Linked DNA regions of Homo sapiens: regions 2, 3, 4, 5 and 6 are each linked to region 1. The links are contacts of gene promoters, found by promoter capture Hi-C in blood cells and fetal thymus (Javierre and others, 2016). All regions are on one chromosome and are shown on one strand. The core of a region is centred on a gene start or on the middle of the fragment in contact, and the rest is flanking DNA. Distances in the headings are between cores, read along the strand shown. Region 1 holds the start of KCTD7 (potassium channel tetramerization domain containing 7). Region 2 overlaps TYW1 (tRNA-yW synthesizing protein 1 homolog). Region 3 overlaps TMEM248 (transmembrane protein 248). Region 4 holds the start of TPST1 (tyrosylprotein sulfotransferase 1). Region 5 has its middle 12 kb from the start of LINC02604. Region 6 overlaps CRCP (CGRP receptor component).

Region 1 (4,280 bases), core at 1,684-4,183:
GCTAAGGTTCTGGAGGTAAGGGCTGAGTGAGGAACATGAAAATGATGGTATAAATGTGCCCTAAGAAGCTCGAGGTTTCCCTTAAAATGCAAGGCTTTTTTTTTTTTCCTGTTTTGCACTGCTTGTGGTTTCTACCAAACTGCATTTGAAAAAATGAGGTCAGTTTAAGTTCTCTTTAATCTTCCCACAAACTTCCTCCAGATCAATTCAAATTGTATCCCTATGCATCTTTTTTTTTTTTTTTTGAGACGGAATCTCATTGCAACACCCAGGCTGGAGTGCAATGGCACGATCTCGGTTCACTGCAACCTCTGCCTCCCGGGTTCAAGAGATTCTGCTGCCCCAGCCTCCAAAGTAGCTGGGACTACAGGTGGGCATGGCCACACCCAACTAATTTTTGTATTTTTAGTAGAGATGGGGTTTCACCATGTTGGCCAAGCTGGTCTCAAAGTCCTAACCTCAAGTGATCTTCCTGCCTTGGCCTCCCAAAGTGCTGGGATTATAGCCATGCATCCTTTTCAATATTACATCTCTCCTGCTCCAGTGAAAGTCTGCTTATCTACACAGTACCTTTCCCAGCTTTCAAATCCTTTGTGAAATAAAATAGGGTACAAATACATTAAATAAAGCTGACCCAGGGCCTTGTGCAGCGCCTGGCTCAAATAAAGACCCAAAATTCACCGAATGAATGAAAGAAATAGACAGGTAGTTACACTTCCGTGTGTGTATGCACTGTTACTCTTCTGCACCCACAGGACATGAAAATGCCTTGCGCTTATTCTGTAGGTCCTCTAAAACCATTTTATGTGTATATCAAGGGCTCAGATATCATTTTGGAATAATAATACTTAACATTTCTGGAGCTCTTTAAACCTTTTCTAAAGATACTTCATACCAATCCAAGTGCTTGCTCCATATTAGAGATGAGAGGATTGAAGCAGAGAGGACAAAAGCCATCGGAAACAGTTTTGGAGCTCACATGGGGCAATGTCATCAGTGGGGGGAACTGGTGGTGGGGCCCTGGTCTGCAATCTGTGGTCTTGTGCTCTTTCCCTCAAACCATATCATTTTCCCAATGACAGTGCACAAAAAAATAGCACCACTGTGACTAATGACTTTTTTCCAATTGCAGAGATTACTTCTAGATTTTTGCTCATTTTCCCATGGCATTGTGTGTATGGGGCTTGCAATCCCAGCACAACACTATCTGCTTCCCAAGAGCATCACCTAGCCCAGCCTGTTGAGGGCCTCAATTGTTGAGGGCCTCCATTGTCCTGGGACTCCGCATACCACATGCTCCTGGATCTGGCACTACCTTAGTCCCTGCCTCCTAGAAGCCATCTTCGGTGTCCAGTAATGCTTCACCTTCCCTCCTCTTTATTTTTTATTTGTAGAGATGGAGTCTGTGTTGCCCAAGCTGGTCCCAGACTCCTGGCCTCAAACCATCCTCCTGCCTTGACCTCCCAAAGTGCTGGGATTACAAGTGTAAGCCACCACACCTGGCATCGTTTCCCTTCTCTTGCTTTTTTTGTTTTTGTTTGTTTGTAGGTACGGTCTTACTCTATCACACCCAGGCTGGAGTACAGTGGCACAATTACAGCTCACTGCAGCCTCAACCTCCAGGGCTCAAGCAATCCTCCCAACTCACCTTCCTGAGCACCTGGGACTACAGGCACACACCACCAAGCCTGGCTAATTTTCATTTTTGTAGAGGCAGGGTCTCACTGTTGCCCTGACTAGTCTCTAACTGCTGGGATCAAGCAATCCTCCCACCTCAGCATCCCAAACTGCTGAGATTACAGATGTGAGCCACCATGCCTGGTATCTTCTCCCGTCTCTTGAGTGTCATTTCAGGTGTTGACATGATAGTATCACACACATTAAGTAAGACCCGTGGAAGCCCCTGTGCACCAGAGCACAGCAGCCTGTGAGTGAAAGCCATGGGATGCCAGGTGACCGTGCCTACATCTATGAACTGGCCTGCCCCTTATGTGCAGACAGCTCCTTGCCTTGTTCCTTAGGTAGCTGGAGACTAGGTGTGGGCAACCACTACAGCATCCTGTTGGATTCTCTAGAAGACATCTTTTTCTTTTCTTTTTTTTATTCATCCAACCCAAAATGCCTTTGTTTTTCCAGTCGTAGTAGGGACGGGGCCTCGCTATGTTGCCCAGGCTGGCCTCCAACTCCTGCCCTCAAGCGATCCTCCCTCCCAATGTGTTGGGATTACAGGCTCGAGCTACGGTGCCTGGTCAGACACACCATCAGCTCTCGGGGCTCCAGGGTCCCCCTCCCACGGCCCACCCTCCCTCCTGTCTTCGGTAAAAGTGGGACATGGCGATGGGAGTAAATCACCCCAGTGACTACTGGGCGGAGGGTGTAGGGGGTGGGGAAGCACACCTAGTGGGTGTAATTGACAGGGGTTGAAGGTGGGTGGGTAGGGGTGCAGGTGGGCGGGGGAGTTGCAGGTGGGCGGGGGAGGGGCGCAAGTCCGCGGGCCCCGCCCCCAACCCCGGCCCCGCCCACCCGCCGAGGACCGCTATGCCCCGCGCCCGCTTCTCCCCCGCGCCCCTCCCCACGCCCCGCGGCCCGCCGCCCGCCCGGGTACCTCCTGTGGCAGCAGGGGCAGCGCGTGCCCCGCCTGCGTGGCCGTCGGCGTGGCCGGCTCCAGAAAGTCGTCTTCGGCGTCAGAGCTGGACATGGCACCGTCCTGACGACGGCTGTCTGGCTCCCGCCCCGTGACTACCACCATCCCTCTGGCTCTGGGCAGTGGGCGCGGCTTCGGGCGGGCGGAGGCGGCGGCCCCGGGCACTCCCTACCGCCGAGCAGCGCCTGGCATGACGCGGCCGGCTGCGGGCTGGCCGGAGGGGGGCGAGAGGCAGTGCGCAGGCGGGAGGGCGGTGGCTCCCTCAACGCCGACCCGCTCGCGCCCAGCTGGGGCCTGACCCGACCGCCTCCCGCTACTGGCCGACGCCGCGCTGGTTCCGCCCTGATTGGCAGGAAGCTCGCCCAGTCGAAGAGCAGGCAGCGCCAGCGGCCGGCGCCTGAGTGGTCCCTGGGTTGGGGGGGGGGGGGGGGGGCGGCCTGCGAGCCTGCCGTGCACTGATTGGTCCTCTGGCCAGCGGGCGCGCCCTCTCCGAGAGACCCGGCGGTGGTGCGCCGCTACGCTCTCATAACTGGGCGTCGGAGTCTGCCGTGAAGAGGGTTCTCACCCGCGTCAGGGTAGACGCCTTATCCCTTCACACAGGGGGTCACGACTTACTCGTGTGTCTGGCCCCAGAGCAGCGGGTCCTTGTCTCCTCAATGGAAGGCCTGAGCAGCCTTTCCTGGAGGATGTGGCGGGAGGAGGGCTGAGGTGGCTGCGGACACGCCACCGCGGCTGGCCCCGCCCCGAGCCGCAGGGCACCGCCCGGGTGTCCAGTTCTTCCTCACTCGCTCGCGCAGAAATCCGAACGAGAAAACCCAAAATAGGAGCGCTTGAGTTCAATGAATAATGACAGTGACTCCCCACCGTGACCGTTTTTCCACCGGGACACACAGATGGAGACAGGCCCTTCCCCAAGATGCTCCCGGCTCCCTGGGAGGCGGAGTCCAGCCCTAGAGGCTCTATCAGCGCAGGGAGTCTCCTGGGGGTCAAGGTTCTTAGCCCGTTCAAGCCATTTTCTCCTTTCTTTAAAAGACAAAGTCTCACTCTGTTACCCAGGCTGAAGTGCAGTGGCGCAATCATAGCTCATTGCAACCCCTGGGCTCAAGCAATCCTCCCGCCCCAGCCTCCCGAGTAGCTGGGACCACAGACGCGCACCACCACACTCAGCTGATTTTTTAAAATTTTGGCCGGGCGCAGTGGCTCACGCCTGTAATCCTGGCTCTTTGGTAAGCGATGCGGGTGGATCACCTGAGGTCAGGAAGTTGAGACCAGCCTGGCCAACATGGTGAAACCTCATCTCTACTAAAAATACAAAATTAGCCAGGCATGGTGGCACACCTGCAATCCCAGCTACTAGGGAGGCTGAGGCAGGAGAATCGCTTGAACCCAGGAGATGGAGATTGCAGTGAGGCGAGATCACGGCCACTATACTCCAACCTGGGCAACAAGAGCGAAACTCCGTCTCAAAAAAGAAAAAAAAATTTTTTTTTTTTTTTTTTTTTAAGAAATGGGGTCTTGTCATGTTGCCCAGGCTGGTCTCAAACTCCTTGCCTCAAGCTGTCCTCCCTCGTCAGCCTCCCAAAGTGCTGGGATCGCAGGCGTGTGCAACCATGCTTCTCCTTTTCAAACCGTTTTC
Region 2 (4,481 bases), core at 681-3,180, 380 kb before region 1:
GGCTGAGACGGGAAGATCCCCCGAGCCCAGGGGTTAGAGGATACAGTGAGCTACGATCACACCAATGCACTCTAGCCTGGGCCACAGACTCAGATCCTGTCTCATAAAGAAAATAACATATTAAAAAACAATAAACACAGAGAAGTGCAAAAAGAAATAGTGAAGAATGGGCTGGGCACAGTGGCTCACACCTGTAATCCCAGTACCTTGGGAGGCCGATGCAGTTGGATCACTTGAGGTCAGGAATGCGAGACCAGCCTGACCAACATGGTAAAACCCCGTCTCTACTAAAAATACAAAATTAGCCAAGCGTGGTGGCACACACCTATAATCCCAGCTACCCGGGAGGCTGAGGCAGGAGAATCACTTGAATCCAGGAGGCGGAGGTTGCAGTGAGCCAAGATTGCACCATTGCACTCCAGTCTGGGCAACAAAACTCCATCTCCAAAATAAATAAATAAATAAAATAAAAGAAAGAGTGAAGAGTGAAAAGAATGGGAAACATGAAAAGAAGCCGGTTGACAGACAGGAAAAAGTCCTAGGGAAGAGTTCACAGGGCTAACAGAACCCCAGAGAAGCTCTAGGCTGGGAGCAGCCACTACAACAAAAGATGGAATGAATATCTTTTGTACGCTAATGAGATGGCTTACTGGAGTGAGGCCTCAGATAGCTTCAGGATGGAGGCTCGTTGCCAGAGAAACTGATGAGAAGTTAAACTCAGCACCTCCTACCCCAGCCCCAACAGGGAACACTAGGGAGAGAAGAGGGGCTGGAGATTGAGTTTAATCACCAAGGCCAATGATTTAATCAATCGTGCCTATGTAATGGAGCCTCCAAGAAAAACCCCTGAACAATGGAGACTGTTGACTTGGTGAACATACCAATGTGCTGGGGAGAAGACACGGCCAGAAACGGCCTGGAAGCCCTGCTCAACCCCCACCCCTCCATAGCTGGCCCTGTGCAGCTCTTCCATTCGGCCGTTCCTGAGTTGCATCCTTTATGATAAACCACTAAACATAAGTCAAGCAACTTCCTGAGGTCTGTGAGTCATCCTATAGAACCTGAGGAGGCAGTGGTGCAGAACCCTAAATTTAAAGCCGGGACTTGTGACTGGTGTCTGAAGTGGGGGCAGTCTTGTGGGCTAATGATAACTCCCAATAGTAAGCATGAGAACTGGTATAGAAAAAGGACAGGTTGGCCAGGCGTGGTGGCTCACACCTGTAATCCCAACACTTTGGGAAGCCGAGGCGGACAGATCACCTGAGGTCAGGAGTTCAAGACCAGCCAGACCAACATGGTGAAACCCCATCTCTACTAAAAATACAAAAATTAGCCAGGAGTGGTGGTGGGCACCTGTAATCCCAGCTACTTGGGAGGCTGAGGGAGGAGAACTGCTTGAATCCAGGAGGCAGAGGTTGCAGTGAGCCGAGATCGTGCCACACTGCACTCCAGCCTGGACGACAGAGCGAGACTCCATCTCAAAAAAAAAGAGAAAAGGTATTTGGGGGTCAGAAAACAGTACTGCAGCAGGCCTCAAGGACTGATACGGTTTGGATATTCGTCCCCTCCAAATATCATTAACACGTAATCTCCAATGTTGGAAGTGAGCTCGAATAGGAGGTGTTTGGGTCATGGGGGTGGGTCCCTCAGGAGTGGCTTTGTTACCAGTGGAGGGTCTTGCCTAGGAGTTGTCCAGGTTGTTCACATGTTCAACAAAGAACTGAAAAAAATGCAACAAGCGAAGCAACAAAAACACAGATTTATTGATGGGAAGGTACACTCTACAGTCAGGAAGCAGGCTTGAGCAAGTGGCTCAAGAGCTCCAGTTGTTTTTATTAAGCTTAGGTTTTTATTAAGCTAGAAGAATTTGGTAACACCCCCAGGTATCCTTGGGAGGCTTCCAATTGGTTACACCCTATATAAATGAAGAATTGGCTCATGGCCAATCAGAGGCTGCAGTGGAGTTATACCATATGCAAATAAAGAATTAGCCCACAGCCCATCAGAGGCTAAAGCTTTCCTTTCAGTTTAATTCAAGGACGTCAGCCACAGGTTGGCCTTAGGCTCTGTCTCCAGACTCTACTTTCCTACCTCAGCTTGCCGCCCTCCCCTTGGTGTTGAGTTCTTGCCCTATTAGTTCATAGATGGCTGTTAAAAAAAAAAAAAAAAAAAAAAAAAAAAAGCCTCACATCTCTCCCTACTGTTTTGCTCCCTCTCTCACCATGTGGTACCTATTCCTCCATGGGTGGAAGCTTCCTGAAGCTTCACCAGAAGCCAAGTGGATGTTGGCACCATGCTTGTAGAGCCTGCAGAACCATGAACCAAATAAACCTCTTTTCTTTATAAATTACAGTATTAGTCCATTCTTGCATTGCTATAAAAAAAATACCTGGCCGGGCATGGTGGCTCATGCCTGTAATCCCAGCTCTTTGGGAGGTCAAGGCGGGCGGATCACTTGAGGTCAGGAGATCGAGACCAGCCTGGGCAACATGGTGAAACCCCATCTCTACCAAAAATACAAAAAATTAGCTGGGCATGGTGGCATATACCTGTGGTCCAGCTACTTGGGAGGCTGAGGTGGAAGGATCGCTTGAGCCTGGGAGGCAGAGGCCGCAGTGAGCCGAGATCACGCCACTGCACTCCAGCCTGGGCAACTGGGTGAGACTCCATCTCAAAAAAAAAAAAAAAAAAAGGAAAAAAGAAATACCTGAGATTGGGCAATTTATAAAAAAAAGACATTTAATTGGCTCACAGTTCTGCAGACTGTACAGGAAGTGTAACGGCATCTGCTTCTGAGGAGGCCTCAGGGAGCTTCCAATATTGGTGGAAGGCAAAGGAGGGGCAGGCACATGACATGGCAGGAACAAGAGAGAGAAGGAGGCAGTGCCACACACTTTTAAACAGCCAGATCTCATGAGAACTCACTGTCACGAGGACAGTACAAGGGAGATGGTGCTAAACCTCTCATGCAAAATCTGCCCTCAAGATCTAAGCACCTCCCGCCAAGCCCCACCTCCAACAATGGGACTACGATCCGACGTAAGATTTGGTGGGGACACAGATCCAAACCATATCAATTACCCAGCTGCAGGTATTCCTTTATGGCAATGCAAAACAGACTAACACAAGGATAAAGTGAGATTTGAGCCAAAGCCAAAGGAACTGGGAGAACCATGAGGTTATCCCAGGCGGCAGGAACAGTGAACTGCAAAGGCCCAGAGGAGGTTACTAAGACTGAAAAAAAAGAAACCAAGGAGATGGGGTAAGAGAGTTAACAAAGAGCCACACGTGTAGGATCTCTGGGCCACTGTGAGGACTCAAGCATTGACTCTTGAATGAAGGGGTCAGTGCAGGGTTTTAAGCAGAGGGATGACGTGACTTCACCTAAGTTTTCAAACAGTCACTGAGGTTGCTGAGTTGAGAGTACACTGGAGTCAGAAGAGGGCCAAGTGGTACTGAATCAGAAACACTGTCTTAGTCCATTTTGCTATAAAGGAGTACCTGAGACTGGGTAATCTATGTCTTTTATTTTTTTGAGACAAGGTCTCACTCTGTCACCCAGGCTGAAGTGCAGTGGCACAGTCACGGCTTACTGCAGCCTTGACCTCCTGGGCTCAAGCAATCGTCCCACCTCAGCCGCCCAAGTAGCTAGGACTACAGGCACATGCCACCATGCCTGGCTAATTTTTGAATTTTTTGTAGAGATAGAGTTTTGCCATGTTGCACAGGTTGGTCTCAAACTCCTGGTCTCAAGTGATCCACCTGCCTTGGCCTCCCAAAGTGCTGGGATTATAGGCGTGAGCCACTGTGCCTAGCCCAATCTATGTTTTAAAAAGGTTTATTTAATGCAGAGAACCCCAGTGAGATATTACGTAAGATGGCCATCCCCAAGACACAAAATCATCAGATTCTCCAGTCGAAATGAAAGAAAAAATGTTAAAGGCAGCTAGAGAGAAGGGGCAGGTCAGCTACATAGGGAATCCCATCAGGGTAACAGTGGACCTTTCAGCAGAAACCCTACAATCCAGAAGAGATTGGGGCCTATATTGAGCATTCTTAAAGAAAAGAAATTTCAAGCAGGGCATGGTGGCTCACATCTGTAATCCCAGCACTTTGGGAGGCCAAGATGGGTGGATCACCTGAGGTCAGGAGTTGGAGACCAGCCTGACCAACATGGTGAAACCCCATCTCTACTAAAAATGCAAAAATCAGCCAGATGTGGTGGCGCACACCTGTAGTCCCAGCTACTCGGGAGGCTGAGGCAGGAGAATCACTTGAACTCGGGAGGCAAAGGTTGCAGTGAGCTGAGATCGCACCACTGCACTCCAGCCTGGGTGACAGAGAAAGACTCTGTCTCAAAAAAGAAAACAAGAAATTTCAACCAAGAATTTCATATCCAGCCAAATTAAGCTTCATAAGCGAAGGAGAAACAAGATCCTTTCAGGCAAACAAATGCTAAGGGAATTTATTACAACCAGACC
Region 3 (4,671 bases), core at 373-2,872, 320 kb before region 1:
CTCTAAGCAGCACTATTTCTTGTTCACACGGACACTAACTAGATAGTCTTCTATGAACGTCTGTGAACATCCCTCTAAGATAATATTAATAGAAGGATCCCTTGTAACCCCCCCCAGGGATTAGGCAGTTGCTCAAGAAATAACTGCTGCTGAACAACAGAGAAAATGAAGAGAAAAACCAGATTTTTCTTAACCAATGGGTAACATGTTTTTCCAAGCATCCACCACTCCGCCTAGTGTCCTAACTCACCTGGAAATCTAAAGTGGCAGAGGATACGCTTACCCAGGGAAGTCAGCAGGGCCTACACCAACGGTTGCAGCACATGCGCACACATGTGCATATGCATGCACGCACACACACACACACAATTTTTCTCACTTACATCTGGAACAATCACTGTAAGCTTGGGATTTAAAGCATGATAGACTTTTCCAATGGCCCCCTTATAACACCAGAAAGGATTGTAATCTTGGGCGTATTTTGTGTTGGCATCTCTGGCAGTTGTGAAGATCTTGTACCAGAGCGTGGCGTTGCTGTACGTGTCAGGAACACAGTGCGGTGGCTGTCTGCAGGAGAAGAGGAGGAGGAAAGACACGTGCTCAGTGGCCTGAGTCATTCACTTGTGTCACCCCCACAGCAGCTGGTAAAACACTGAACACGGCAACACACATGGAAAGGAAAAATGTAACTTACACGTTCATGCTTCTTTGAGATAAATACCATTATATTTTAGTTTGAGGGTCTTTTTTAAAAAATAAAAATATAACAGAAAAATAAATAGGTGCCTGACATTTAGGAGTTTGGGTGTTGGATTTTTGCCTTCAGAATTCAGCCTACAGTCCTCTCACATGTGATGCAAAGCACATAAGCTCCTTTTAAGCCTATCTTCTCAAATGAGCTAAACTCTTAGTATATTAGTCCTTTCTCATGCTGCTGATAAAGACATACCCGGGACTGGGTTATTTATAAAGGAAACAGGCTTAATTGACTCACAGTTCAGCATGGTCAGGGAAGCCTCAGGAAACTTACAAGCATGGCGGAAGTGGAAGCAAACACATCCTTCTTCACATGGCGGCAGCAAAGAGAAGTGCCAAATAAAAGGTGGAAAACCCCTTATAAAACCATCATATCTCATGGGAACTCTCTTACTATGAGAACAGCAGCATGGGGGTAACAATCTCCAGGATTCAATTACCTCCCACTGGGTCCCTCCCATGACACATGAGGATTATGGGAACTACAATTCAAAACGAGATTTGGGTGGGGAGACAGCCAAACTATATCATCTTTTTTTTTTTTTTTGAGACGGAGTCTTGCTCTGTTGCCCAGGCCGGTGTGACCTCGGCTCACTGAAACCTCCACCTCCCATGTTGAACTGATTCTCCTGCCTCAGCCTCTCAAGTAGCTGGGATTACAGGTGTGAGCCATTGCGCCCAGCCCAAAGCATATCACTTAGTTACAACTGGAAGCTTTACCTACAAAATTCTATATCAGTCACTGCAACACAAAGTAATGTTTAACTTAATCTGATCTTGTCCTACAAACCTCCAAATGTCTAAAATAGACAAATCCTGAGATAATTCTTATTTAAAAAGGATTCACCATAGAATTATTTTAAATAGGCTATATCTTATGTATTTCACCTATTTATTTATAGATAATTATCTCCTTTATAGAGACAGGAGAGACCAAAAAAAACCAACAACAAAAAAAACCTAAAATGCAAAGCAGTAACACTGAATGCTGCTCAAAAACACTGAAGGAAAAGCTTCAAAAACCTTAATTGTTTAATGGAAAATAAAGTTCAATTTATATTTGATTTTAAAACTAATTTTCAAATTCGCAGGTAAAATTAAAGTAACTGTTTAATGGGAAATGATTTAAAATGTTAGATTTTAAAATTAGTTAATTAACAGAAAATAAGTTTTGATTTATACTTGATTTAAAACTAAAATCAAGATAAACTAAAATCAACGATTTTAAAATATCTTTCTGGATAATGGAGATGAACAAAACCTTTATCTTTGTTTTATTTGATTTATTTATTTTTTTGAGACAGAGTCTTGCTGTTGCCCAGGCTGAAGTGCAGTGGCGCGATCTCAGCTCACTGCAACCTCTGCCTCCCTGCTTTAGCCTCTGAGTAGCTGGGATTACAGACATGTGCCATCATGCCTGGCTAATTTTTATATTTTTAGTAGAGATGGGGTTTCACTATGTTGGCCAGGCTGGTCTTGAACTCCTGACCTCAGGTGATCTGCCCACCTTGGCCTCCCAAAGTGCTGGGATTATAGGCATGAGACACCGCACCTGGCTGAAAACCTTTATCTTTAGAGAGCCTCTTTTCTTTTTTCTTTTTCTTTCTTTTTTTTTTTTTTTAAATAGAGACAGGGTCTCCCTATATGTTGTCCAGGCTGGTCTTGAACTCCGGGGCTCAAGTGATCCTCCCACCTCAGCCTTCCACAGTGCTGGGATCGCAGGCCTGAGCCACGGCACCCGGCCACAGTGAGCCTCTTTTCTGTAACTTGCTGCTTCTACTCCTGCGGGAAAGACAGCCTATGAATGTCCAACAACAGCCAGGTGCTTTTACTGCCTCGAGGGGGCACTAACTTTCTGATTTTATATGCAGAAGTTCTATCTTTAGAATTCCAAATTAAATAATCCTTTAGACAAATTAAATAATCCTTTAGATAGGTCCGAGTAGAGATAATTCTATAAAGAAATGTGAAGTGAGCCATCCTGAGAATTTACAGCTGAAGCAGCCCAGCCGTACTCACGGCAAGTGGAGCTTGTTACGCACGTTCATCAGGTGCCGGGTACACTTACACAGTGACGGGGAACACCCCAGGGCTGGCCGTGAGGGTCATGCAGGCTGTGAATACCACCTGCTCACAGTGACCGTGGAGGGCGCAGTCATCTGAGCTCCACGCTGTAGGCAGGGTGAAGGTGATGTTTATCTCCTCGTGGGCTTCCCTGCCTATGAAAGAGAAATCATTTTTTTATAAAGTCAAGAACCACGTACTTGTCATTCTCTGGGATACAAATAAATCCTGAAATCAAACCCACACAGGAATCATCTATCAGCCCAGGCACCTGCCTTTGTGGGATCTGAGGAAGAAGAGCAGTCCTGACCCTGACCATGAGTCCTACTCAACTCAGAGCCACGAAGCAGCGAAGGAAGTGGCCACTTTCCAGTACATGGCCTGGAGATGCCAAACCAGACCTCGGGCAGATCAGAGATGAAAAGCTCGGGCTGGGTGAATTATCCCCAGCATTTCTGCACAGCTGTCTAGCCATTTTCAAACATCTTTTATATGTATTATTTCACTTAAAATTTACTACTCTCCCATGAACATGACTGAAGAAGTGCAGCTGTTCCCCTTTTACATATGAACAAACAGAGGTCAGAGGGTTTCAGAGTTAAGAAAGGCAAGTGATGAAGCTTAAACTAAAACCAACGTATTGCCAGGCACAGTGGTTCACATCTGTAGTCCCAGCACTTTGACTTTAGAAGGCTGAGGCAGGAGGATTGCTTGAGGCCGGGAATTCACGACCAGCCTGAACATGACAGCAAGATTCTGTCTCTACAAAAAAGTTTTAAAAATCAGCCAGGTGTACTGGTGCACACCTGTGGTCCCAGGTACTAGGGAGGATCACTTGAGCCCAGGAGTTTGAGGCTGCAGTGAGCTATGATCACACCACTGCACTCTAGCCTGGCGACAGATCAAGACCCAGTCTCAAAATTAAAATAAAATTTTAAATAAAAATTAAATTAAAATAAAAAATTAAAATATTAAAATAAAATTAAAATTAAAAAATAGCCAAGCGTGGTGGCTCATGCCTGTAATCCCAGCACTTTGGGAGGCTGAGGCGGGCGGATCATTTGAAGTCAGAAGTTCAAGACCAGCCTGGCCAACATGGTAAAATCCTGTCTCCACTAAAAATACAAAATTAGCTGGGCATGGTGTCACGAACCTATAATCCCAGCTACGCGGGAGTCTGAGGCAGAACAGTCGCTTGAACCCGGGAGACAGAGGTTGCAGTGAGCCAAGATTGTGCCACTGCACTCCAACCTGGGCGACAGAGTGAGACTCCATCTCAAAATAACAACAAAAAATCCCGAAGGTGTCCTTATGCCATGCCATAAGCAACAGGTCCACTTGCTACATGGAAAACCCAGAAGTCACCCATACCTTGATTATTATGGGAATATTCTCACCTCTAACAGCCAATAGGAGGCTGGTGGGCACTTAAATTCCTTGAAGGACTTTTTATTTGTTTCTTGTTTTTTTTTTTTTTTTTTTTTGAGACAGGGTCTCACTCTATTGCCCAGGCTGGAGTACAGTGGTACAATCTTAGCTCACTGTAGCCTCGACCTCCCAGGTTCAAGCAATCCTCCCACCTCAGCCTCACAAGTAGCTGGGACTACAGGTGCACGCCACAACACCTGGTTAATTTTTTTAATTTTTTCATAAAGACAGGTGTTTGCTATGTGCCCAGGCTGGGCTTCAACACCTGAGCTCAAGCAATCTTCCTGCCTCAGCCTCTCAATGTGCTGGGATTACAGGCATGAGCCACTGCATCTAGCCTAAGCAATTTTTAAAAAGCCTTTTGGTAACCAAAGAACAAAAGGTTATTCTTCCAAGGCCCAGGTGTCCCATATGAAGCCTTTC
Region 4 (4,800 bases), core at 2,236-4,735, 420 kb after region 1:
CAAGTCAGTGAGAAAAATAAGAAAACAGAACATTATAAATAGTAAAAATGGGCTGGGCACAGTGGCTCACGCCTGTAATCCCAGCACTTTGGGAGGCTGAGGCAGGCAGACTGCTTGAGGTCAGGAGTTTGAGACCAGCCTGTCCAACATGATGAAACCCTGTCTCTACTAAAAATACAAAAATTAGCTGGGTGTGGTGGCAGGCGCCTGTAATCCCAGCTACTCGGAAGGCTGAGGTACGAGAATCACTCAAACCCTGGAGGCAGAGGTTGCAGCGAACTAAGATGTTACCACTGCACTCCAGCCTGGGCAACAGACCAAGACTGTGTCACAAAAAAAAAACTAAAAATGGTATAAGTGGTAAAAATGGAGATGGAAGTATGTACAGGGTGCTGTGGAAACACAAAGAAAAGTCACCTAACCCAAACTAAGGAGGAGGGGTAGTCAGAAAAAGTCCTAGGTGCCTGTAGACAGAAACTTGTCCTCACTCTCACCAGGGTGATGCTCCCAGAGCACCCTGTAGTCATCTCTGTCACAGTCTTGATTTTACGGTAGTGAATGGTCTGTTTCTTTACTGCTTTTTTCTCTGGATCACAAAGGGCCCAGGAAGGGGATGCGCCCATGCTACAGAAGGCTTGGAAGGACTGGCTCAACATGCTAAGGGTTTGGGAGCTGATGAGAATTTTTAAAGAAAACAAGCAGCATGATCAGATTGATAGTTCAGAAATGGAACCAATTCCAGCAGCAACGTGGAGGATTAAGTAGACTACAGGACCCAGAGGTTCAGAAAAAGCATAACCAAGGTCTGAACCAGTCTTCTGGCAATGAAGAGAGAGAAAAAAAAAAGATGTTATGAAGAGAGGAAAAAAAAAGATCTGAGGTAGCAACAACAATAGGATCTATGCTAGACTTAATGTGAGGAGAAAAGAAGATGATTTTAAGGTTTCTAGAGTAAAGATCTTAAAATAGTAATGTTTGTATATGTGCTTAAAGGGGGCTATGGGTGGAGAGAAAGGGAAGGAAAAGGTAACCACATTTGAAGTAATCAAGCATCCACATACAGCTATGCAGTAGGCAGATGAAAATTAGAACCTGAGGTTCAAGAGAAACGGGGACTAAATAGACGTCTTTGAAAACCATAAATATATAGGTGCTATTTGAAGCCATGAAAGGAAGTGTAATCACACAAGGAAATTAGAGAAAAGAACAAAAATGAAACCCTAAGGAATGCCACGTTAATCTGAGAAGAATAAAAAAAGAAAAGGGAAGCATCAAGAAAAGCTTTGTTTTGGTCTGAATGGTGGAAACCTGAGGATGTATACCATCCAACAGAAAAAATAATAATATGGGAAGAGATCAAAGACGTTAGCTTTCGAAAGTAAGACCCCTCTTCTTCTGAGATCAGAGGAAAGGATATTAGAAATCAGGTACAGACAGGCACAGACAAAAATGACCTCTCCTTAAGAGTTCAGGGCTGATGCCCACCAATTTATTCTGTGAAGTTAAGTGGCAAAATAAGCAATGAAGAGAAGGCAAGAGTAGGACAAAGAGTCAGAGAAAAATGGTAAAGATCCATAAACAGCCATTTAGATTTTAGGACATAAGAGGAATCTAGAGGTTAAGTCAAAGGATCTCCAGGATCCAGAAGTGCAGAAACAGCACCCAGCAGTTTAGTTATATGATTTTTGCCAGTCTGCCTTGGGAGCCCAGGAGCAGAAAAAGCTGACTGATTCGTCCAGGCTTGAGACCATCAGAGCAAAGGTGGCAAGAATAGTACAGGGCCAATGACAATGCTTTTATCATTTTAAAAAGTCAAACGTATTTTACTCTTTTTTAAAAATCGACTCGCTATTTCCTCCAAGAGCGAGTGTTTGGAGAGGGGGAGGGAGAGGGGTGGATAATTCCTCTCTCACTCTTAGAGGACTTGTCAGAAGTTTCATTCTTAAGCATATTTGGTCTGTACAGCAGCTGATTCCAGGAAATCCAAATCCTGATTCCTCCTGGATCTTAAAAGATGAAAATTCATTGCAGCTCCCTGGACTATCCAGCTAATAGATAAACACGTACCACATTGCTTATATACTATGCCACTTTAGCTGGGAGGTAGGGGCTCTTTCTTTCCTAAAAAGAAAGTTACCCAAACACTGCAGATGGGGATGGAGAGGGGATGGGGAGTAATTACACCGCAAAGCCTGCTGACTAGCAGCCTAAGAATCCTTTACAAAGGCAATTAACATAAAACAATACATGGCACGGATAGCAGAATTGTTTCTTCTTAATGAATGCAGTAATTGACCATTTAATCGCTTTACTGGAGTTCACCAATTTCTCCTGCCATCTCCCATACCATTCTTCAGGCAGAGTCAAATCCCTGTGGACACTGGACTTCTTGCTACCATCATCTGGAAAGTACAAAACGCCTGGAAGGAGGAAGAGGCTAACATGCGTGACCACCCACCATGTGCCAGGCCTACTGTGTGCTAGACTCTGGGCAAGGGACTTTACATGTTATGGGGTGCAGCTCATGTAAGGACGAATGAAGATATTACACTATGGATCTGAGCCAGGCGCAGTGGCTCACGCCTGTAATCCCAGCACTTTGGAGGCCGAGGCAGAAGGATAGCTTGAGGTCAGGAGTTCGAAGCCAGCCTGGGCAACATAGAGACTCCATCTCTCAAAAAAAAAAAAAAAAAAAGCGATGAATCCGGCATTGCAGAGAGTGGGAAAGTGTCTGGAGGTTTAAGAGTAAGAGAAGGAAGAGGAGATTGCGATGGTGGGTGGTCAAAGTGAGGGGAGAAGAGGCGAGTTGGGAAAGGAAGGTGCTTAGGAGCAAAAGGGCAAGACCCAGGGACACCTGGAGCGGGGCGGGCGACTGCCATGCAGACAGGACTACGTACAACGGGTAGGATGATGGGGCGATGAGCTCAAGAAGCGCAGCCGGGGTAGACGTGGGGGCAAATGTCCGATCCCGGCGAGACGAGGGTCTCATCCCAGGGGACTGCGGGGCTAGGACGTGGTCCCAGGGCTGCGAGAAGGGAGAGAAAGGGCAGAGGGGAGAGGCCCCGGCGGCCGGGGCGAAGCCGAGCCCGGGAAATGCCGGCGATGGGGGAAGGGGCGTGGGAGCAGGGGCCGGACGGGCCAGACCCGGGGCTCCGCGCTCGGGGGCGGGGTTGGACAACCGGGAGGCACCGAGCAGAAGGCGACAAGGGGCCAAGGGATGCCAGGACGGGGCACAGGGCCGGGTGTGAGGAGACGAGAGGGGAGCGGAGCCGCAGCGAGCGCCGCGTCCCCCTTACCTGGGATGAGTGAGGAGCCGCCGCGCCGCCTGGACGGCATCCTGGCCTCAGCCGCTGGTCCCACCGCCTTCGGTGGGGGGCCACTCGGGAGCCCGCCCTCACCGCCAAGCGCCGGCAGCTGCCAGCCTGGACCGGCCCCGCAGAGCAGCGCCGTTCCGACCCGCAACCGAAGCCGCCTCAGCAGCGTCTCCCGCGGTCGCCAACTCAGCGACAACCGCCAGGGTCCGGGGAGGTGGCGGGATCACACATCTGCTACGATTGGCTGAGCGGACGATGTGTCGGCTGCTCTGATTCGTGAGTTCCGGCCGGCTGCCCACCGAAGGAGGCGCGGCTGGGAATGGAGCTGGGTCCGGCAGGCGCCGAGGGGCGGGGGTCTGACGTCGCAGCCGGCCAGCGCCCCCACAGCCCTTCCCGTGCGCGCTCCCGAGGGGGCTTCCCGGCAGCCGCAGGCCTGGCCGGGTGGTTGCCCTAGCAACAGCGCGCGTGGCCTGGCTGCAGGGGAGCCGCGGGCAGGTGGCGGTCCTCACCGCCCCCACCCCCAACGTGGGTGTCCCAGAGGCCTTCATCAGTGAAACCCTAGGACAGGAGAAGAAAATGAGCTTTTCCTGATAATTCCTCTCCTCTGCTTCAGAGCCCACCTTTGCCCGCTGCTGGCAGAGAAGCTGTCATCTCCTCGGGGAGATAACGCGCAAATGCAAATAACGAACTCAAACACTATTTCATCCCCACGAGAGTGTAGACGTGCAATAGTCCCTCCCAACCACAGAGGTGGGGGGCTGACGCCCTAAAAGAAAGAAATGAAAACTAGGGAGAAAAAGGCAAAGAAGCAAAAGAAAGGTGGGGAAAGGGCAGATATTTCACAAAATGATCCATTCATTTTACAGTTTCTTCCTACAGACACATCTACACCAGGTTCTGTCAAAGCAATTATTTCTACTCCAGTGACATGGATTAGAGAAGGCATGAGTGCAGAATCTAACAGCTGTATTCAAAATTGCTCTCTGCTAGGCCAGGTGGGGTGGCTCATGCCTCTAATCACAGCACTTTGGGAAGCCAAAGCTGGTGAATCACCTGAGGTCAGGAGTTCGAGACCAGCCTGGCCAACATAGTGAAACCCCGTCCCTGCTAAAAATACAAAAATTAGCCGGGCATGGTGGCGGACGCCTGTCGTCCCAGCTACTGGGGAGGCTGTGGCAGGAGAATTGCTTGAACCCGGGAAGGTAACTACCTTCCTTTGCACACAGTATAATATTTTCAAAGTTCATCCATGTTGTAGCATGTATCGGCACTTCATTCCTTGTTACGGCCGAATAATAGTCCATTATACAGACATCACCTTTTTTTTTTTTGAAGAGTCTCACTCTGTCTCCCAGGCTGGAGTGGAGTTATGTGATCTTGGCTCACTGCAACCTCCACCTCCTGGGCTCAAGTGATTCTCATGCCTCCGCCTCCAAAGTAGCTAGAATTACATGCATGTGCCACCATGCCTGGCTAATTTTTATAT
Region 5 (4,413 bases), core at 857-3,356, 260 kb before region 1:
AGGCCAACCCTCACCACTCTATTTAACATTTCCATCTGTCATGCGTCCTTCCTTTCTTCCTTCCTTCCTTTCCTTCCTCCTCCCTCTCTTCCCTCCTTCCCTCCCTCTTTTTTTCTTTCTCTCTTTTCTCTTTCTTTCTTGAAAGAGGGTCTTGCTTTATTGCCCAGGCTGGAGTATAGTGGCTCAATCACAGCTCACAACAACCTCAACCTCCCAGACTTAAACAATCCTCCCACCTCAGCCTCCCTAGGAGCTGAGACTACAAGTGCATACCACAACATCTGCCTAATTTAACAAAAATTTTTTTCAATAAGAAGTCTCACTATGTTGCCCAGGCTTGTCTTAAATTCCTGGGCTCAAGCGATGCTCCCCATCTCAGCTACCTGAAGTGCTGGGATTACAGGTGTGAGCAACTGCCCCTGGCTCATGTTCGTTTCTTCTTGCTGCTGCAACAAACTACCCTATATTTAGTGCCTTAAAACACCAAAAATCTGCCATATTATAGTTCTGGGAACCAGAGGCCCAAACTAGGCCTATTAAGGCTAAAGTCAAGGTGTAAGAGGGGCTGCATTCCTTCTGGAGGCTCTAGAGAGAATGTGCTCCCTTGTCTTTTCCAGCTTCTAGAAGCCACCCCATTCCTTGACTCACCTTGAAGATAGCCCCTGACTCCATCTTGAAGGCCAGAACTGCAACATCTTCAAATCTCCCTCTCTGACCTCTTCTTCCATCACCACATCATCTTCTCTAATTCTGAGAATTAATGAAATATTATGCTTGATGTTATTGTGATCATCATACCTATTCCAAACTATTTGACAAGGACAGTGATGGATGATAACATCAAAAGATTAGAAACTGTAATGAGGTCTCTTGGGCAAAATTCCATACAAGCAAATTACTGTCTCTCCAAAGCACTCCTGCCACTCTTACTTCACCATTCCCTGAACAAAATGTGCCATCTTCATTGTCCAGGTCTTTACAGTGCTGGTTTCCCCACCTGGACAGCCCACTCCATCCCATCCCAGCCCATTCCCCATCCCTCCACCTCCTCCTTCCCTCCTCACTCTCATACAACTCTTCCTCATCTTTCAGGACCCAGCTTCAATGTCAACTTAACTGGAAGCTTCTCTCACCCTCCAGAAGTGCTTTCCATTGTTCTTGATGTATGCACTATTATTTGATCATTTTTTAGTTACAGTCCAAGTCTTTTTGTACCTGAATAACATGTTGCCCAGTCAGTCTCTCTTCCTGGACTCTGACGTCTTTCATGGTAGATCCAGCTGGAAGTGACAAAAAGACATCCTTTAAAAAAAAAAGGAGGGATGAAACAGACATCAGTACTTAAAAGTTTTAAATGGTATGTGAAAAGCAAACAAAATTCAAGGGCTTCTAGGAAAAACGTAGGATGGAAGGTGTTAGTGGGAAATATGATAAAGGGTTAATTTTTATTTTATTTTATTCTTTGAGAAAGGGTCTTGCTCTATTGCGTGGGCAGGACTGCAGTGATATAATCACAGCTCATGGAAGCCTCTACCTCCGGGGCTAGAGCAATCTTCCCACCTGATTTTTATTTTATTTAAGAAACACAGTCTTACTCTGTTACCAAAGCTGGAGTGCAGTGGTGTGATCATAGCTTACTGCAGCCTCAACCTCCTAGGCTCAAGTGATCCTCCAGTCTCAGCGTCCCATGTAGCTGGGACTACAGGTGTGCACTGCAATGTCCAGCTCATTTTTTAAAAAATTTTAATAGAAACAAAGTGTCACTCTGTTGACCAGGCTGGTGATGATCTCCTACCCTCAAGCAGTTCTCCCACCTCAGTCTTCCAAAGTGCTGGGATTACAGGTGTGAGCTGCCACATCTGGCTGAGGGTGTTAATTTTTAATTATATAAAGAGTTCAAAGCAAACATTAGAAGGAGCCTAAACGCCTACAGTGGCTGACTGGTAAACTGTGATACATCTATATAATAAAATATTATGCAACCATGAAAAGGAGTAAGATAGATCAATAGGTATTGGCATAGATGTCCACGAAATATGAAAATGTGAAGTGATGTCCAATTAGCCTATATGTATCTTGAAGAATATGGCCCATTTTTGCAATAGCAATTATTTCCTGAGATAAAATTGTGGGTCTAAAGAGTGAAGGAAAATTTTCACTTCTTTATTTAAAAGTATTTACTATTTTTATAATTTCATAAAAAATAGATAATCAAATTAGTAAAAGACTCATTAACTCTATAAATAAAGGGAAAAGACACAGACAGCCCAGGCATGGTGGCTCACACTTATAATACCAGTACTTTGGGAGGGGGTGGTGGGAGGATCGCTTGAGGCCAGGAATTCCAGAATACCCTGGGAAACATAGCAAGACCTCGTCTCTACTAAAAATAAAAAAAATTAGTCAGGTATGGTTCCATGTGCCTATAGTCTCAGCAACCGAGGTGGAAGGATCACCTGAGCCCAGGAGGTCAAGGCTGCAGTGAGTCAAGACTGTATCACTACACTCAAGCCTCGGCGACAGGGTGAGACTTGGTCTCAAAAATTAAAAAAGGACAATGAAGAAATAAAGCTGATAAGCTAACACAAGGAAAGATATTAAAATATGACAAATAAAAATAAAGTAATACTAGGTATTTTATTTATTAAAAATAGTCAAACAAAAAATAACTTGTTAAATTATAATACCCTGTGCCGGCAAAGGTGCAATGAAATGTGCATTTTCTTTTTTTTTTTTTTTTTTTTTTTTTGAGACAGAGTCTCACTCTATTGCCAGGCTGGAGTGCAGTGGCGTGCTCACTGCAACTTCCAACTCCTGTGTTCAAGCGATGCTCCTGCCTCAGCCTCTCGAGTAGCTAAAATTACAGGCACAGACCAGCACGCCCAGCCAATTTTTGTATTTTTAGTAGAGACGGGGTTTCACCATGTTGGCCAGGGTGGTCTCGATTTCTATCTCGTGATCCACCCACCTCAGCCTCCCAAAGTGCTGGGATTACAGGCATGAGCCACTGCGCCTGGCCTGAAATGGGCAATTTTTTTACACTATTAGTGGTGTTTAAATTGTATATAAGCCTTTGAGAGTAAAGCTTGGCAGTCTTTTTAAAATAATACAGACAGTGATTCCCTATACTGCCTCCTCTAACTCCTGGCTTCAAGCAATCCTCCCTCCCACCTCAGCGTCCCAAAGTGCTGGAATTAAAGGCAGACAGCCACCATGCCTGAAAGCTCGACAATTTACATCAGGTGTAATAAGAATGCTCATGCCCTGTGACTCACAGTAATCTCACTTCTGGAAATATCATCTTTGGATATAATTCAAACAAAAGGTCATATGTACCCAGTGAAAATCTGGGAGTAATTTTTTTCTCTTTTTAAAAAATATATGGAATGCTTCACAAATTTGCATGACATTCTTGCAAAGAGGCCATGCCAATCTCTCTATTGTTCCAACTTTAGTATATGTGCTACCGAAGCAAGCATGAGTAATTTAAGATAGAGTGGTTAAGTGGAATAAGGAAGAGTTATGGGGAATTTCAAAAATCTATCATATTTATAGGCACCTAGTAACAGCTCAGTAAATATTAGCTGCTACTTTTATTATTTTTATGGTAATTCCACTCAATTAAAAACTGTCATTAAAAATTACCATTGTCATGGAACATAATGTATCCTACAGTATAACTGTAGAAACAGACACAATTTGTCCCTTGGTATATGGGGGGATTGGTTCCAGCTCCTCCATTTCTATGTATACCAAAATCCACACATACTCAAGTTTTTGAGTCAGTCCTGTGCAATCCACATATAGGAAAAATGGGAAAATTAGTGAGGTGTAGTGACAAGCACCTGTAGTCCCAGCTACTTGTGAAGCTGAGACAGGAGGATTGCTTGAGCCCAGGAGGTTGTGGCTGCAGTGAGCCATAATTGCACCACTGCACTCCAGTCTGGGCAACAGAGTGAGATAGAAGGTTGACTTTTTAATAGAATTTTTCTGTTCACTTGAAGATATGGCCAGGACTGTGCCATATGACAATTCTTCATAAAATAATTATCTCACCCAATTAATGTTGGAATTGGGAACAGAAAATGTTTTGGTGACTATTTATTCCTTCACTTGCTGTTATAGAAACTATTGCCAGTGGGCACTTAACAACCAAAAGTGTCATCTCTGAGCTACCCACAATGAAAGGTGATGTCTGGGGCCCAGGTGTGTTGAGGTCCCCATGTCTGGGCTATGGGTGCTGAGTGGGACTTACTTGTCCATCCATTTTCTGTATTCCAGCACTGGGAAACTTGGGTTTATCCATCTTGATAAGAGGTCATTTAAATTCCACTTGGCAAGAACCCCAAATGGAAGAAAGGCCATGAAACCACAGGCTAGCCCTTGTTCTCAAAAGAATCTTTAGCTTAGGTG
Region 6 (4,745 bases), core at 1,845-4,344, 500 kb after region 1:
AAAAAAAAACCCTCAATCTGACAATTGTGTTATATTTTGAACAATTTTTTTAAAGAGGGGGAACCCAAAGAATAAAATAAATTGCCATGAGTCTACATGGATATATACGACTGAATAGATAAACGGGTAAGAAGAGACAACTTTTTCTTTTTTTTTTTTTTTTTGAGACGGAGTCTCACTGTCACCCAGGCTGGAGTGCAGCGGCACGATCTCGGCTCACTGCAGGCTGGAGTGCAGCGGCACGATCTCGGCTCACTGCAAGCTCCGCCTCCTGGGTTCACACCATTCTCCTGCTTCAGCCTCCCAAGTAGCTGGGACTACAGGCGCCTGCCACCACGCCCGGCTAATTTCTTTTTGTATTTTTAGTAGAGACGAGGTTTCACCGTGTTAGCCAGGATGGTCTCGATCTCCTGACCTCGTGATCCACCCGCCTCGGCCTCCGAAAGTGCTGGGATTATAGGCATGAGACACCGCACCCGGCCAAGAATGAGAAAAATTTTTAAATCACTCTTAGGCAATTGTACCATAGTCATAACTACTGCAGGAAAGACCCACCAATAAATGCTAAAATTGATGGTTAAAAGCTTAAGCAAAGGGTAGGCTGTTTTCCTAGCCGCAAAGCATCTCCCACAAAATATTTTTTAATTACTGTGGTGGTTTTAACATACAACCACAAATTCTTCGATATCCCTCCCTTCAAGAGGTGAAGCTTAATCCCCCCGCCCCGCTTCCCCTTGAATATGGGCTAAACTTGGTAAGTCCTTTCATCTTATTTATTTATTTATTTATTTATTTGAGACAGAGTCTTGCTCTGTCGCCCAGGCTGGAGTGCAGTGGCGCAATCTCGGCTCACTGCAAGCTCCACCTCCCAGGTTCACGCCATTCTCCTGCCTCAGCCTCTCTGAGTAGCTGGGACTACAGGCGCCCGCCACTACGCCCGGCTAATTTTTTGTATTTTTTCTTTTTAGTAGAGATGGGGTTTCACCGTGGTCTCGATCTCCTGACCTTGTGATCCGCCTGCCTCGGCCTCCCAAAGTGCTGGGATTACAAGTGTGAGCCACCACGCCCAGCCAAATCCTTTCTAACATAATGTGGAAATGAAGAAACAGTAGATTTACAGTGGAGAAACCAGGCAGATACCATCTTAACGAAATGACCAAAGTTAACAACATCACCCATAAGAAACATCAATATCATGTACCCCCAGAAATCAGGACACGAGAAGGGGAGATTACCTCTGTGGTACTCTTCCTCAAAAGCCATAGGTTTTGTGTAATCATAATAAAACATCAGGCAATCACAAATCAACAGACATTCTACAAAATACTTGACGAGACTTTGGAAGTGTCAAGGTCATGGAAGACAAAGGAAGAGTAAGGATATAGATTGAATGACATTATGGGGACATGTTAACTAAATACAAAATGGTATCCTGAACTGAATCCTGGAACCCAGAAGACAGCAATGGGAAAACAGGGCATTCAAATAAAATTTAAGTTTAGCTTAATAGTATGTACCAATGTTAATTTCTTGGTTTTGATCACTGTACCATGGTTATGTAAGATATTAACATCAGAGAAAACTATGGGAAGGGTACATGAGAACTCCCAGCACTGTCTCTACAACTTTTATGTAAGAGAAAAATGGCTGGGCACGGTGGCTCACGCCTGTAATCCCAGCACTTTGGGAGCCAGAGGTGGGCGGATCACATGAGGTCGGGAGTTTGATACCCGCCTGACCAACATGGAGAAACCCTGTCTCTACTAAAAATACAAAATTAGCCGGGCAAGGTGGTGCATGCCTGTAATCCCAGCTACTCGGGAGGCTGAGGCAGGAGAATCGCTTGAACCCGGGAGCCAGAGGTGAGCCGAGGTTGCGCCATGGCACTCCAGCCTAGGCAACAGGAGCGAGAATCCGTCTCAAAAAAAAAAAAAGAAAAATGATTTCAAAATAAAAAGATTTTTCTTTTTTTTCTTTGATTTGCAATGATGTGATGCTTTCTCATGATTACACAGATTTTGTGGCTTTTGAGGAAGAATATAGATAAAATTTCGGAGGAATTATAATTACATATTTTGGAAGGAATCTCAAACTTGAAAAATAATAGCCTTAAGCGTGTAAGTTCCCAGCACTTTGGGACGCTGCAGTGGGAAGATCCCTTAAGCCCAGGAGTTGGAGACCAGCCTGGACAACAACAACAAAAAATAGCCAGGCGTGGCAGTGGATGCCCATAGTCCCAGCTACTTGGGAAGCTAAGCTGGGAGCATCACCTGAGCCTAGGAGGTTGAGGCTGCAGTGAGCTGTGATCCCCTTTCAAGGAGAAATGAGGGCAATCTTTTACACTATTCCTTCTAACTTTGTAGCTGGCTAAACTCTAAACTTGACCAAACTCCTCTCACTTCTATAAACAGAATAAAAATTAGGTTAGAGTAGGCTGGGCGCGGTGGCTCATGCCTGTAATCCCAGCACTTTGGGAAGTCTAGGCGGACGGATCACGAGGTCAGGAGATCGAGACCATCCTGGCTAACATGGTGAAACCCTGTCTCTACTAAAAATACAAAAAATCAGCTGGCCGTGGTGGAGGGCGCCTGCAGTCCCAGCTACTCGGGAGGCTGAGGCAGAAGAATGGCATGAACCTGGGAGGTGGAGCTTGCAGTGAGCGAAGATCACACCACTGCATTCCAGCCTGGGCGACAGAGCGAGACTCTGTGTCAAAAAACAAACAAACAAACAAAAATCAGGTTAGAATAAAACATTCAGATCATATAAAAAGCAATCTTAATTTCAGCTGCCAGTCATTGGGAGAATAAACCCCCCTCCCTCAATGGTACTTTAGGTAGGCCTGGCAGAAGCCCAGCCTTACTTCATAGGTGATAGTGTTCAAGTTCTGTTGCCCAGAGCTGTGTTTATTCTTTCCACTTTCTTTACGCTGCTCTTTCAGATCAGTTAGTAACTGAAATACCTAGGAGGAGATACAAAAAAGACGTTTATGAATAAATTTGAGAAATATATCTATCCAAGGTCAGTGGTTTTGAAGGATAAACAGGAAAGTATAGTACTTCCTTTCACCCGCCCATCACCCAGCTTCCAACTCTTGGATTTGAGCAAATATGAGTCCCAGAGGCATATTACATTTTTAAAAAATGTTCTTTTATATAAGCCAAATAATTCAAATTCATTAATTTACTTAAAATATTTCAAATATTTCCTATCAATATGTACATCACTAATCTGATCTCAAAAATATACTATTTGAAAGCAGATTTTCTTAAAGCAAATATTTTGTTAAAAAAGAATTCTGGGTCCAGGCATGATGGCTCACGCCTGTAATCCCAGCACTTAGGGAGGGTGAGGTGGGCGGTTCATGAGGTCAGGAGATCAAGACCATCCTGGCTAACACGGTGAAACCCCATCTCTACTAAAAATACAAAAAATTAGCTGGACATGGTGGCGGCACCTGTAGTCCCAGCTACTCGGGAGGCTGAGGCAGGAGAATCACTTGAATCCGGGAGGCAGAGGTTGCAGTGAGCCTGGATGGTGCCACTGTACTCCAGCCTGGGTGACAGAGCGAGACTCCATCTGAAAAAAAAAAAAAAAAAAAAAAAAAAGAATCCTGCTTCTCTAGTATAAAAATCTAATATAATAATTTCTTTCTGGAAAAGAAAAATTTTGAGGCAAGTGATAAGACAGAGTTTACCCCCCAAAAAAGAAAGGAAAAAATGCTATGGATCTTTAGAAGCAAACTTTCCCACAAGGATAAAACATACATGTATTAGTGCTGGGGGCAGGGGGGAATCTTAGTCTCATTCCTGTTTTAGAGATTCTACCACAGAAGTGAAGAAAATGCAGGCTCACACACCATCACCAGATACAATACGACCCCTCTCATCTGCTGGTCCTTTCAGAAATAGTGGCATGAGATCAATGAATGCAATGTTTCCCCAATGGATAAAACACCCAAACACCTAGCAAAGTCCAAACTGGACAAGGAGGCTCCTAAAAGCCAAAGGCTTGGCCAAAAACCATTCAACCATTTCCTTCCTGTTCTAAGCTGCAACCACTTAAGACTGAGCCTTTAGAGAGGAAAGAATATGGCCAACTCTGTTTATTCTACTACCTTCTTTTTTGTGGGGCGGGGGAGGGGAGCACCACAAGGGGGTAGGTTTCTTTCTTTCTTTTTGCTGTCTTACACTCTGGGAGCTTTTTTTTGGGGACACGGTCTCAAAAGCTGTCTCCCAGACTGGAGTACAGTGGTCATCACTGTAACCTCAAACTCCTGGGCTCAAGCGAACCTCCCCTCTGCCTTCCAAGTAGCTAGGACCATAGTAGGTGTTTGCTACCATGTCCAGCTAATTTATTTATTTTTATTTTTTTTGAGACGGAGTCTCGCTGTCGCCCAGGCTGGAGTGCAGTGGCACAATCTTGGCTCACTGCAGGCTCCACCCCCCGGGTTCACGCCATTCTCCTGCCTGAGCCTCCCGAGCAGCTGGGATTACAGGCGCCCGCCACCTTGCCCGGCTAATTTTTTGTATTTTTAGTAGAGACGGGGTTTCACCGTGTTAGCCAGGATGTTCTTGATCTCCTGACCTCGTGATCCGCCCGCCTCGGCCTCCCAAAGTACTGGGATTACAGGCGTGAGACACCGCGCCCGGCCGCTAATTTATTTTTTTAAGAGCTGGGGGTCTTGCTAGGTTTCCCAGGCTGAGCTCTAACTCATAGCCTCAAGCAATCTTCTCTCCTTGGCC

What was found. The method cuts DNA at HindIII sites, captures the fragments that hold promoters and counts their contacts. A CHiCAGO score of 5 or more calls a contact.
Region 2: a contact is called between a fragment that was not itself captured here and the fragment with the promoter of KCTD7 in region 1, in 10 of 17 cell types (fetal thymus, naive B cells, total B cells and 7 more). The highest score is 12.7, in fetal thymus.
Region 3: a fragment that was not itself captured here is called in contact with the fragment with the promoter of KCTD7 in region 1 in 2 of 17 cell types (total B cells and erythroblasts); the score reaches 6.8 in total B cells.
Region 4: a contact is called between the fragment with the promoter of TPST1 here and the fragment with the promoter of KCTD7 in region 1, in 1 of 17 cell types (naive B cells). The highest score is 5.6, in naive B cells.
Region 5: a fragment that was not itself captured here is called in contact with the fragment with the promoter of KCTD7 in region 1 in 1 of 17 cell types (total B cells); the score reaches 5.4 in total B cells.
Region 6: a fragment that was not itself captured here is called in contact with the fragment with the promoter of KCTD7 in region 1 in 1 of 17 cell types (neutrophils); the score reaches 5.9 in neutrophils.

What each region holds. Positions count from the first base shown.
Region 1 is chr7:66,627,534-66,631,813 of GRCh38, reverse strand. KCTD7 (potassium channel tetramerization domain containing 7) reads right to left here and starts at 2,933. Exons shown (of 4, transcript NM_153033.5): 1 at 2,606-2,933. The coding sequence starts at 2,749. RefSeq lists silencers at 2,573-3,142, 4,153-4,280. The HindIII fragment of the contact is 8,113 bases long and covers 1-4,280 here.
Region 2 is chr7:67,004,650-67,009,130 of GRCh38, reverse strand. All of the region lies in intron 3 of TYW1 (tRNA-yW synthesizing protein 1 homolog), which reads right to left. Among named protein-coding and RNA genes, the nearest start is that of TYW1, 10 kb to the right of the region's middle. The HindIII fragment of the contact is 175 bases long and covers 1,843-2,017 here.
Region 3 is chr7:66,946,848-66,951,518 of GRCh38, reverse strand. TMEM248 (transmembrane protein 248) reads right to left here. Exons shown (of 7, transcript NM_017994.5): 4 at 2,825-2,975; 5 at 384-567. Among named protein-coding and RNA genes, the nearest start is that of TMEM248, 28 kb to the right of the region's middle. RefSeq lists an enhancer at 1-1,117. The HindIII fragment of the contact is 299 bases long and covers 1,473-1,771 here.
Region 4 is chr7:66,204,019-66,208,818 of GRCh38, reverse strand. TPST1 (tyrosylprotein sulfotransferase 1) reads right to left here and starts at 3,485. Exons shown (of 6, transcript NM_003596.4): 1 at 3,297-3,485. RefSeq lists silencers at 3,083-3,442, 3,593-3,862. The HindIII fragment of the contact is 8,515 bases long and covers 1,284-4,800 here.
Region 5 is chr7:66,890,254-66,894,666 of GRCh38, reverse strand. It overlaps the pseudogene RNU6-1254P. Among named protein-coding and RNA genes, the nearest start is that of LINC02604, 12 kb to the left of the region's middle. The HindIII fragment of the contact is 1,962 bases long and covers 1,126-3,087 here.
Region 6 is chr7:66,128,961-66,133,705 of GRCh38, reverse strand. It overlaps CRCP (CGRP receptor component), which reads right to left. Exons shown (of 6, transcript NM_014478.5): 3 at 2,864-2,962. Among named protein-coding and RNA genes, the nearest start is that of CRCP, 16 kb to the right of the region's middle. The HindIII fragment of the contact is 4,765 bases long and covers 712-4,745 here.